Linked DNA regions of Homo sapiens: region 1 is linked to region 2. The links are contacts of gene promoters, found by promoter capture Hi-C in human tissues and cell types (Jung and others, 2019). All regions are on one chromosome and are shown on one strand. Each heading gives the region's core, a stretch centred on a gene start or on the middle of the fragment in contact. The rest is flanking DNA. Distances are from core to core; before and after follow the strand shown. Region 1 holds the start of ZNF428 (zinc finger protein 428). Region 2 holds the start of PHLDB3 (pleckstrin homology like domain family B member 3).

The links. The method cuts DNA at HindIII sites, captures the fragments that hold promoters and counts their contacts. A contact is called where the count stands out against the background at its distance.
Region 1: the fragment with the promoter of ZNF428 here is called in contact with the fragment with the promoter of PHLDB3 in region 2 in 1 of the 25 tissues and cell types used here (stomach).

What each region holds. Positions count from the first base shown.
Region 1 is chr19:43,617,540-43,623,129 of GRCh38, reverse strand. ZNF428 (zinc finger protein 428) reads left to right here and starts at 3,501. Exons shown (of 3, transcript NM_182498.4): 1 at 3,501-3,572. LOC105372411 (a long non-coding RNA gene) reads right to left here and starts at 4,069. Exons shown (of 4, transcript XR_001753942.2): 1 at 3,498-4,069. It overlaps CADM4 (cell adhesion molecule 4), which reads left to right. Exons shown (of 9, transcript NM_145296.2): 9 at 1-762. RefSeq lists a silencer at 3,448-3,687 and an enhancer at 3,492-4,142. The HindIII fragment of the contact is 11,511 bases long and covers 91-5,590 here.
Region 2 is chr19:43,501,551-43,506,827 of GRCh38, reverse strand. PHLDB3 (pleckstrin homology like domain family B member 3) reads left to right here and starts at 2,082. Exons shown (of 16, transcript NM_198850.4): 1 at 2,082-2,239; 2 at 2,696-2,922; 3 at 4,545-4,727; 4 at 4,957-5,094. The coding sequence starts at 2,710. It overlaps ETHE1 (ETHE1 persulfide dioxygenase), which reads left to right. Exons shown (of 7, transcript NM_014297.5): 7 at 1-109. RefSeq lists silencers at 1,886-1,945, 2,546-2,795 and an enhancer at 2,424-2,946. The HindIII fragment of the contact is 32,375 bases long and covers 1-5,277 here.

The DNA.
Region 1 (5,590 bases), core at 2,252-4,751, 110 kb before region 2:
TCTGGGTCCCCCAGGGGGCAGGGGCCAAAGGTCCAGACCCCCCAAGTCCAGTGAGGGCAGTAGGGATTGGGTTGGGGGAAGATAACTGGGGGAAGGCCAGGGCCCCTAGGCTACAAAACCAGGTCTTGTGGGGAGGGGGTCAGTTTCTGGGAAGGGTGGGGGGGGCAGGGAAGGGGAACACAGATTTCTTTGGGGGTCCTAGACCCCATGCCAGCCATTGTAAGAGTTCCACAGAGCTCTGGGCACTTCTTTGCAAAGCCATGTTTGCACGGTGGGGGGATGGGTGGGGGGAGGGCGTGGAAATAGGGATTCTGTGTCTTTGTGTCATAACTTTGATGGGGGCAGTGAGGGAGACAGCCCCAACCCTTTTCTCCAATCCCCCTTCCCCAGGTTCCTGGGCTCCCCTTCTCTCTACCTTCTCCCCCAACGTCTGTCCCATCCATATTTGTCTCTCTGTCCACCCACTCCTGGGGGGGCCTTCCCCATCTCTCCTCCAGGCCCCCCGGGGAGGGGGAAAGGAGTTTGGGGAGGATTCGTGGTCTTCATGGTTTTATATATAATATATTAAAAAATCAAAAGTCTGTATGAAAATATCAGATTGCACCCCCCTCTCCCCATTCCTGGCTTTTGCCCCCTTTTTCTTGTTAAAAAACAAAAAACAAAAAACAAAAAACCACACACACATTTTGTACGGGGTGGGGAGGGGAATGGGGAGGGGGTTTGGCAATCTCACTAACCACCATTAAACTGAGGAGAGAACAAGTGTTTGGGGTGGCTGTGTGTCTGTCCTGCTGTCAAGGGCTGTACCATTGGGAGGGGAACTAAGGGAGAGGGGAGGGAGGAGTGTGATGGTTGCTGGTGGACAGTATAGGCCAGGAGAAGGTCCTGACCTCACTGAGGGTACCTCGACCTCCCCAGAAACCTGGGTTTGGCCATTTCTTCAGCCAAATAGTCACAGTCTTGTCTTTTTGATAGCGACTGAGCTACCCCATTCCATGGCCCGGACCCTTACCCTGGCTTCCCCCTACCCCAGACATTAGTCTCCAAGGGAACTTTGAATTAAAGTTAAACTCTCAAAACCTTTGCCTAGCTCCCCATCACCTTTAGACCAAGTCAAAGCTCTTTAGTCTGGCATCCCAGGCCTCTCATTCATTCATGTACATTTTAGATGTATTATTCTAACTTTAAAAAATAACCTCTTACGATGTGCCAGGTGCTGCTCAAAGTTCTAGAGTCCATGGTGAATAAAACAGGCAAATGTTAAGTGTTAAAGACAGCGCTACACTAATCTGAAATCTGATCCTGCTCTAAGCATTGAGAACCCAAAGTGAAAAAGGGCGACTCCATTCTTACCCTCATGAAGCTTTCATGAGGAAAACACTCAAAACAAGGAAGCAAAGAAAGTTCAGATTGTGATAAGAACTATTAATATAAATGCAGAGTATGGTGATGTGGTATGCCATTGTCATTATGGAAAACTTCAAACCCACAGGAGTAGACAGGACAATAACGTCCCATGTACTCTTTTTTTTGAGACCAAGTCTCGCTCTGTCGCCCAGGCTGGAGTGCAGTAGCGCCATCTCGGATCACTGCAAGCTCCGCCTCCCGTGTTCACGCCATTCTCCTGCCTCAGCCTCCCGAGTAGCTGGGACTACAGGCGCCTGCCACCACGCCCGGCTAATTTTTTTTTTTTTTTTTTTGTATTTTTAGTAGAAATGGTCTAGGATGGCCAGGATGGTCTCGATCTTCTGACGTGATCCGCCCGCCTCGGCCTCCCAAAGTGCTGGGATTACAGGCGAGACCCAGAGTCTCGCTGGGTGGCCCAGGCTGGAGTGCAGTGGCTCAATCTCGACTCAATGCAACCTCTGCCTCCAGGGTTCAAGTGATCTTCGTGCCTCAGCCTCCCAAGTAGCAAGGATTACAGGCACCCCCCATAACCCCTGGCTAATTTTTGTAGTTTTAATAGAGGCAGGGTTTCACCATGTTGCCCAGGCTGGTCTCAAGCTCCTGACCTCAGGTGATACACCAGCCTCGGCCTCCCAAAGTGCTGGGATTACGGGCGTGAGCCACCGCGCCCAGCCCCATGTACTCTTCATGCCAGTTACAACCACCACCAACTCATGGCCAATCCCGATTTATCCATAACTCCAGTCAAATGTGTAAGTGCTATTATGGAGAGATCAGGAAAAGCCTCTCAGATTGACATCTGTACCAAGATATGAATGGTGAGCACAAGAGTAGGTATTCAAAGGTCAGAGGGAAAAGCATTTTCAGGCGGAGGGAACGGCAAGAGCAGAGGCCCGAGCTGGTAAAGAGTTTGGGGTAAGGTGGAGCTGGACAGAAATGGAGGGAGGAGGAAGTAGGTGGGGTCAGAAAGATAAGCACGGCCAGACCAGGTGTATAGCCCTGAGGCCATGATAAAGATTTTTGGATTTTTTTTTTTTCCTAATGGGATCCCTTTGGGGGAGTTTTAAGCCAGAATGTGACAAAGTCACTTACAGGAAGACTGGAATGTAGCCATAGTTGAACTCTAACATCGTCTATAGAACCATTTCCCGTCTCCAGTTAGGTTCTAGGCATACTAAGCTGCTCTTGCTTCCTCAATCAAAACATGCGCTTCTATTTTTTTTTTTTTTTTTTTGGCCTCTGGGCCTTGGCGCTTGCAGTTCATTCTGCCAGACCCATTCCCATTCTAGTTGGCTCCTATTCGTACTTGGCTTAAGGATCACCACCTCCTGGAAGTCTTTCTAGAACCAGAGGCCGGGGCAAGCGCCTCTTAGGCTCCCACAGCCCCCTGTGTTCCTCACTCCAGGTCTGACCTTCTGGGTAGTAGTTGTCTAATTAGGTGCGTATCTCCTTCGACTGGGGTGCCGTGAGTACAGGAGTATGGTTCACTGCAGAAACCACAGAATCCGCCAGCATGGGGCCTGACACCTAGGAGATCAATAAACCTTTATCCTGGTTGGGAGGGGTCCTGGCCCTCGTGCCCTCTCTCAGGATGCAAACTGATCCCCTACGAAGACAAGGCTACCCACTTCGCGTCAGTCTGCAGTCCCTGCGCGCATGCGCTTTGCTCAGGTTGCCCCCGCCATATGCTAATCACTGCGCTCTGGAGTAAGGCCCCTCCGGGGAATATGCAAATCACTCCTTCCAGTGCGGGAGGCCTTTCATTGTCCCGCGCTAGGATTATGCAAATAAGCAGGCCTCGGGCCCAGGATCCAGTCCGAACTAGCGCCCTCCACCCCCAGCGCATCCCAGTTTTGTAAGGCGCGTTCCTGCCCCGCACACGCACGCGCGAACCCTTCAGCTTCTTGTTCCTTTGGGCCGCGGGCTGTACCAAGTAAACCCAGGCAGCGAGGGGCAAAGCACGGCGCCCCCCGCGCGGGTCTCGTCGACGGCCCGACGCGCATAGCCCCTCTTCCCACAGCGCTACAGGACTAGTCCGTCTCGCCGCGCAAGCGCCCTAGGCTCTTCACGCCCCCTGCGCGCTGTCCTACCCTACTTGCGACGCAGGCGCAGAGGCTGGGCGTGCAGCCGCCGCCGCAGAGCCGGAGCGGGGGCCGCCGGCGCCGGTGAGTGTCCCGGGCAGGGGTGCGCGAGGCATGCCGGGAAGCGGGCGCTACGGCCCCGCTGCATGATGGGAGCGACGACTCCCGTCACCGGGGAGCCGGCGGTCTGGGGCCGTGGTGACCCGAGGGCTTCTTTTTCTCCCCCTACGCGTTTGTGCCGCCCTGGGGCATCCTGGGAGAACCGAGCGCTCCGCCTTGAAGCGCTGTGGGAGTCGGTCCGCTAGTCGTAGGCCTGGTGCATCCTGGGAAAGAGTGTCCCAGATCCTTGTCGAGACCGGTTCCTTTTATCCCACACCTGCCGCTGACCGTCCTGGAGGCTTGGAGCGCTTCCACACGGGGAGTCTGGGAAGGTGGTCGCTATAGGCCTAAGGCATCCTGGGAAGAACTGCCACAACGAATTGTGGGAACTGGCCGTTATTGTCCCGTAGTGGAAGGTTTTGCCCTGGTCTCTTTGCTCGAGCATTGGAACGGGTGCCTATTGTGTTCACGCGGGGCATCTTGGGAATTGACTGCTATAGGCCCAGGGCATTGTGGGGTCTCCAGCACTGTGTTTGCCTTTCAGTTTGGCTGCCATAGGCGTGGTAGGAGTGGGACTTGTGAACCAAGGGATGGCCCTACCTGACGTCTGGAATACTCTGGAAGGGGCCTTGTGTGACGTGGGCTTGGAAAAGTGTAGGCTGATGGGCATTGTCTCCTGGTAACTTCAGGGAATGTCTTGATTGTCCCAGGTGTGTGGTTGCCGTATAAAATATACAATGTCTAGTTAAATTTGAATTTCAGATAAACAATTATATCCAAAAGATACAACCTTTTAGAAAAGTATGTCCCAAATATCACATGGAACATAGCTATATTAATTCTTTGGGCTAGTTGCAGTGATACCAATACTTTGGGAGGCTAAGGCAGGAGGATCGCTTGAGACCAGGAGTTCAAGACCAGCCTGGGCAATATAGTGAGACCCCCGTCTCTACAAAAAAAAAAAAAAAAAAAAAAAGTAAAAATTAAGCCTGGCATGGTGGCGCATACCTGTAGTCCCAGCTGCTCTCCTAGGGGCTAGTAGGGTACCTTGAGCACAGGAGTTTGAGGTTACAGTGAGCTAACCTCCCAACCTGGTTATGGGGGAGTACATGAGTTAAGGCCTGGAAGCCCCTTTCCTACAGATCACCCTACTGCACTCCAGCCTGGGCAACTGAGCGAGACCCTGTCTCTTAAAAAATATAAATAAGTAGGCTGGGCGCGGTGGCTCACGCCTGTAATCCCAGCACTTTGGGAGGCCGAGGCGGGTGGATCACGAGGTCAGGAGATCGAGATCATCCTGGCTAACACGGTGAAACCCCATCTCTACTAAAAATACAAAAAATAGTCGGGCGTGGTGGCAGGCGCCTGTAGTCCCAGCTACTCGGAAGGCTGAGGCAGGAGAATGGCGTGAACCCAGGAGGCGGAGCTTGCAGTGAGCCGAGATCGTGCCACTGCACTCCAGCCTGGGCGACAGAGCAAGACTCCGTCTCAAAAAAAAAAAAAAAAAAAAAAAAAAAGCCGGGCATGGTGGCACGCGCCTGTAGTCCCAGCTACTTGGGAGGCTGGGGCAGGATAATCGCTTGAACCCAGGAGGCAGAGGTTGCAGTGAGCCGAGATCGCGCTACTGCGCTCCAACCTGGGCGACAGAGTGACACTCCGTCCCAAAAAAGAAAATTAAATAAATAAATAAATAAGGGCCAGGTGTGGTAGCTCATGCCTGTAATCCCAGCACTTTGGGAAGTGGGAGGCCAAGGCAGGAGGATTGTTTGAGCCAGGAATTTGACAGCAGCCTTCGCAACATAGTGAGACACCATCTCCGCAACAAAAACCCAAAAACAAACAAAAAAATTAATTGGATGTCTTCTGTTTTTATTTGCTAAATCTGGCAATCTTATCTTGGTATAAAGTAGAATTCCCAAATTAGATGGGGCCCTGTAGGCAATAGGGTATCATTAGAATTCTCCTCTGCCAATTATGAAATCTGTCTTTAAAAGCCAAGATTT
Region 2 (5,277 bases), core at 833-3,332:
CATCCACTATTAATGCACTAGGTGGGAGGAGAGGGCGGCAATGACACTGCACCTCTCCTTTCCCACCGCATTCCCTGGAGCTCCCTAAATAAAACTTTTTTTAACGTGAGTCTGACTTCTACCTATTTTCTGGGGGAACCAATTGGGTTTCTGGGCCGAAAGGGGTGGGGTTCTGGTCCTATGGAGAGGCCAGGGAGCCTGCAAGATTTGTTTTCTTTTTCTTTTCTTTTTTTTTTTGAGATGGAGTCTCCCTCCATTGCCCAGGCTGGAGTGCAGTGGCACGATCTCGGCTCACTGCAACCTCTGCCTCCCGGGTTCAAGCGATTCTCCTGCATCAGCTTCCCAAGTAGCTGGGACTACAGGCGCGTGCCACCATGCCCGGCTAATTTTTTCATATTTTTAGTAGAGACAGGGTTTGACCATGTTAGCCAATATGATCTTGATCTCCTGACCTCGTGATCCACCAGCCTCGGCCTCCCAAAGTGCTGGGATTACAGGTGTGAGCCACCGCGCCCAGCCCGGGAGCCCACAAGATTTCTAACTCACAAGATCAAAAACAAACACAGCTATCTGGGGCAGGTCTTCTCATCACCTTGGATTAGAACACCGGCTTGCTTTTGAGCCACTTCCCACTTAGCCCTGGGGTAAGTTACTTCACTTCTCTAGGCCTCAGTTTTCTTATCTCTAAAATGGAAGGAATAATAATGGGGTGTTGTGATGCTCTGATGAGTCAATGTGTGTGAGTGCCTGGCACATGGCCTATCAGTGTTCACCATTAAAGTTACTATCATTTAGAATGATCTTTTGGGTACTTCCTGGCTTGTAGTGACAGTATACGCAATGGTTAAGAACATGGACTTTTGAGAGAATGAAGCCTGCATTTTACCACTTACAACATGTGTAGATGTTGGCTACATTTTTTTTTTTTTTTCTGAGATGGGGTCTTACTCTGTCGCCCAGGCTGGAGTGCAGTGGCACATTCAAGACTCACTGCAGCCTCGACCTCCTGGGCTCGAGATATCCTCCTGCCTCAGCCTCTGGAGTAGCTGAGATGACAGGTGTGTGCCACCACGCCTGGCATAATTTTTGTATTTTTAGTAGAGATGGGGTTTCTCCATGTTGCCCAGGCTGGCCTTGAACTCCTGATCTCAAGCAATCCACCTGCCTCGGCTTCCCAAAGTGCTGGGATTACAGGCCTGAGCCTCTGTGCCCAGCCAACCTTGGGTGCATTTGTCCTCCTCAGCTTGTATCCCCAAGTGTAAAATGGAGATAGTAGGCCAGGAGCGGTGGCTCACGCCTGTAATCTCAACACTTTGGGAGGCTGAGGCAGGCAGGTTGTTTGAGCCCAGGAGTTCAAGATCAGCCTGGGCAACCTGGAGAAACCCAGTCTCTACTAAAAAAAAAGAAATGGAGGTAGTAATCACTTTCTCGCTGGACAGCTTTGAGGGTGAAATTAAATGACTGGGTATAAAGTGTTTCACACAGCTCTTGACTTCTAATCATCCCTTTTCATATACCAGTTATTTTCCTGTTTTCATTTTCCTGTTTTCGCCCAGAGAGGAAAGGGTCTGGCTGAGACCTTTAACCTCTGCCCTCCACCCCATAGCAAAGTTGTGGGGGGGTGGCGGTACACTTCCCTCAGTCTCTGGGCAGGTGTCTGACTCAGTTCAGGGCACCCCTTCCCCTTGTCCAGCTCCCCAAACCGGTCAGGGCCCTTCTGAAGGGCTCATTAGAGGGGAGACGTCCCCATCTCCATTCCTGCCTTCCTTTCTGAACTCCCAAGGTCTGGACATTAGAGAGGCTCCCATACAGAGGTGGCCAAGACTCCTCCAGGGGGGCAGGAATGAGGGGCTCGAGGGAGACTGGGAGGTCGCGATGCTGAGTTCCACGAGGGTGGGGCCGGGCCGGGGCCGGTGGGGCCGGGATGGCCGGATGCCGAGGCCACGGGTGGGGCAAGCCCGTGGCTCCCTCCTCCCTCGGGAGCTGTTGGACCTGTTGTCCCCCCTCCACTTCCGGGCTGCTGGGGAGGGGGACCGGGCGGCCTCTCTCCTCCCTCTTCCCCTGCCACCTGTCTCATAGGCAGAAGCGGCCGTGCCCAGCGCGCAGAGCGGAGCGCGCCGAAGCCTGAGCTCGTGAGGGGGCCGAGGCTGTGGGGAGGTGGCAGTTGGACTTCGGAATCTCAAGGACTCCGACTCCTGGCTTGTTCAGAGAAGGAGAGCCCCGACTCCTGGATCCCTGGGTGAGGCGGCGTGGGCACGGTTGCCCTGCACAGTGGGGTCGGGACTAAGACTACGGGGCTCCGGGAAGGATGGGGCGGGAGCCGAACTGCTGAGTCTCGGAGGGAGAAGATGGGTCGCTCTAAGCGAATCCAAGAGATTGTAGGGGGCTGCTGGGAGGGTACAAGGCCTGACACCTAGAGATGAGGGAGGGGAGGCGGGGTCGAAGAGGTCAGTAGGGGGCGTGCTACGACCCGGACTCAAATTCCGGTCCCGTCTCCGGTGGCGTGTCGCCTTGGAGCCATCAAGCCCCGCCTCTGGAAACTTCAGGACACGCCTCCGTAACGCTCAGTTCCATCCTTTGAACTCTTAGGCCCCGCCTCCTTGGGGGGGGGTCTCCGCGCCCCGGAGCAGACGCGAGCGGCGCTCAGCCGTCCTAGGCCCCGCCCCCGGAGCTTCTGGTCCCGCCCACCCCGCAGGAGTCCCAGCGGCCATGGGGACGCGAAGCAGCCCCGAGGAGGGGACCCCGCCGCCGCTGGTCCCGGAATGCGACGTGGAGGTCCAGCCCCAGGGCCATCCCGAGGAGTCCCGGGAACAGGAGGCATCCGAAGTCCTGGCGGAACCTTCGAGCCGCGGGGGAGCTGAGCAGCAGGCAGAGGAAGAAGAAGTGGGAGAAGGCAGCAGCACTGAGAGCAGCCGCGACGCGGTGAGGGGCCCGAGGGCGACAGCGCGGGGGGCTTGGACCGACGGGGACCCAAACAGGTGGCCAGACAGGTAGACAGGTAGAGGGAAACCAGAAAGACAGAGACCCGGAGACAGGGAGAGAGACCGAGTGATAGCAGAGACTACTGAGAGAGAGATACACCAGGACACGGAGCCAGAGAGGCAGAGGCACAGACAGACAGAAACCAGATACAGAGACAGAAACCAGATAGAGCCACGGGGAGGCCCCAAGAACGGAGATAGACCCAAACGGGCGACAGAGACAGAGAGACTAGTATAGAGGAACCAGATAGGTGGCTCACGCCTGTAATCCCAGCACTTGGGGAGGCCGAGGGGAGGATTGCTTAAGCCCAGGAGTTCGAGACAAGTCTGGGCAACATAGCAAATCCCTGTCTCTAGAGAAAAAAAAAATACAAAAATTGTCCAAGCGCAGTGCCGCGTGCCTGTAATCCCAGCTACTCGGGAGGCTGAGGCAGGAGGATCGCTTGAGCCCAGGAGTTGTAGGCTGCGGTGAACTATGACTGCGCCACTGCACCCCAGCCTGGGACAAAGCAGAACCTATCTCTAAAAATGAGAGAGAGAGAGAGAGAGAGAGAGAGAGAGAGAGACCAGATAGACAGACAGGAGAGACTACAGAACAGAGAGAACCAAACGAGTAAGAGATGCAGAGAGATCAAGAAGCCAGACAGAGACCCAGAGACATGGAGACTGAGAGACAAAGACCCCAAAAAGACAGAGACACAGTGAGACTAGAGTCAGAGAGAGGGGAATCGAGACAGAGGGAAACCCAGAAATAAATGGCAGAGATGCTCAGAGAAACAAATAGACAAAAACCTCGAGAGAGGGACATACTCCGAGGAAGAAAGATCTAGTGATTCTAGTGGACAGATCTAGTGGACAGATACCGAATCTGAGAGACTGGGGTCAGGTGGAGAGACAGAGACAGATCCAGGCACTACAAGAAAGTGACGCCAAGAGAATAGGACCTGATAGAGAAAAAGAAACACCTTTCATAAGTCGGCTTTACACCTGCTCACCCTCCATACGGTACTGCAAGCCTCTGTGGTCCGTGTGGTTGGGTGGTCACGGGACTTGCACCCTCCCCCACTCCGACCTTAAATACAGGGGTCTGAGGCCGGGCGCGGTGGCTTATGCCTGTAATCGTAGCACTTTGGGAGGCCGAGGTGGGAGAATCCCTTGAGCCTAGGAGTTTGAGACCAGCCTGGGCAACATAGCATCGCCCCCTCTCTGCCAAAAAAAAAAAAAAAAAAAAAGAGCTTGGCGTGGCGGTGCGCGCCTGTAGTCACAGCTACCTAGGAGGATGAGGCAGAAGAATCGCTTGAGCGAGGGAGGTCGATGCTGCAGTGAGCCGTAATCGCGCCACTGCACTCCAGCCAGTGAGACCCTATCTCAGGACAAAAAAAAAAAAAAGATAAGAAAGAAAAAGAAAAGAGCCTGCGACAGATTATGGGAGTGGTGGTTGTGTTAGGTAAGTGGACTGATGGACTGAGACCCGCAGAGGGTGATGTTGGGTGGGGACCAGACCTACTTAGTGATTGCAGGGGGCGAGGCATCTCCACTTAACCACGCCCCCCTCAACTTCAGCCCGAGGCTACGCCTCCGATAGCTATGGCGGCCACACCTCCCGCATCCACCTCTTCGCGGGAAGGGGTGCGAGGGGCGGCGCGGCGCCTGCAAGGACAGCAGCTGGAGGCATTGACTCGTGTGGCCCTGATGGAGCAGCGAGTGAAGGAGCTACAGCGCCAGAGGAAGGAGCTGAGGATCGAGGTGAGGCTGCGGACCCCTTGGGAAGCCTGGCCCCAACTCAAGCGGAACCCGCAAAGCCGGACTCCCAGCTTTTTCCTCGGGTGGGATCAGATTTTAGGCCCTCCGCTCTTCCTCCCTCCAAATTCAGGTCCCTGGAGTCCATCCTCCCTTCGAATCCGGTAGTTCAGGCCCTGGGCCTCTTCCTTGGACCTAGGCGTCCGAGCCCCCAGCCCTGGCATTCTCTCCGCAGATGGAGGTGGAGGTGGCCTTGCTGCGGGGTGAGCTGGCTGGGGAGCGAGTGGCCGCTCGCCGGGAGGAGGAGCAGCTGCGGGAGCTGCTGGAGCAGCAGGCGGCCTCGGAGCAGCGCGGCCGCCAGCAGCGGGAACAGGTCTGTTTGGCTCACCGGGTCTTCATCAGCAGTGTCCTTCCTGGTCCATGGATGTTGGTGTGCTCCTAGCCACCTGCGCCCCGGGGTTGTCCCCATTCCCCAAAGGAAGACATTTGGGCTCCTGAGAGAGTGAGGGGCAGATGCCCCTCCTGGTTTTCCTTCTCCCTCCCTGGGCGAGATTTT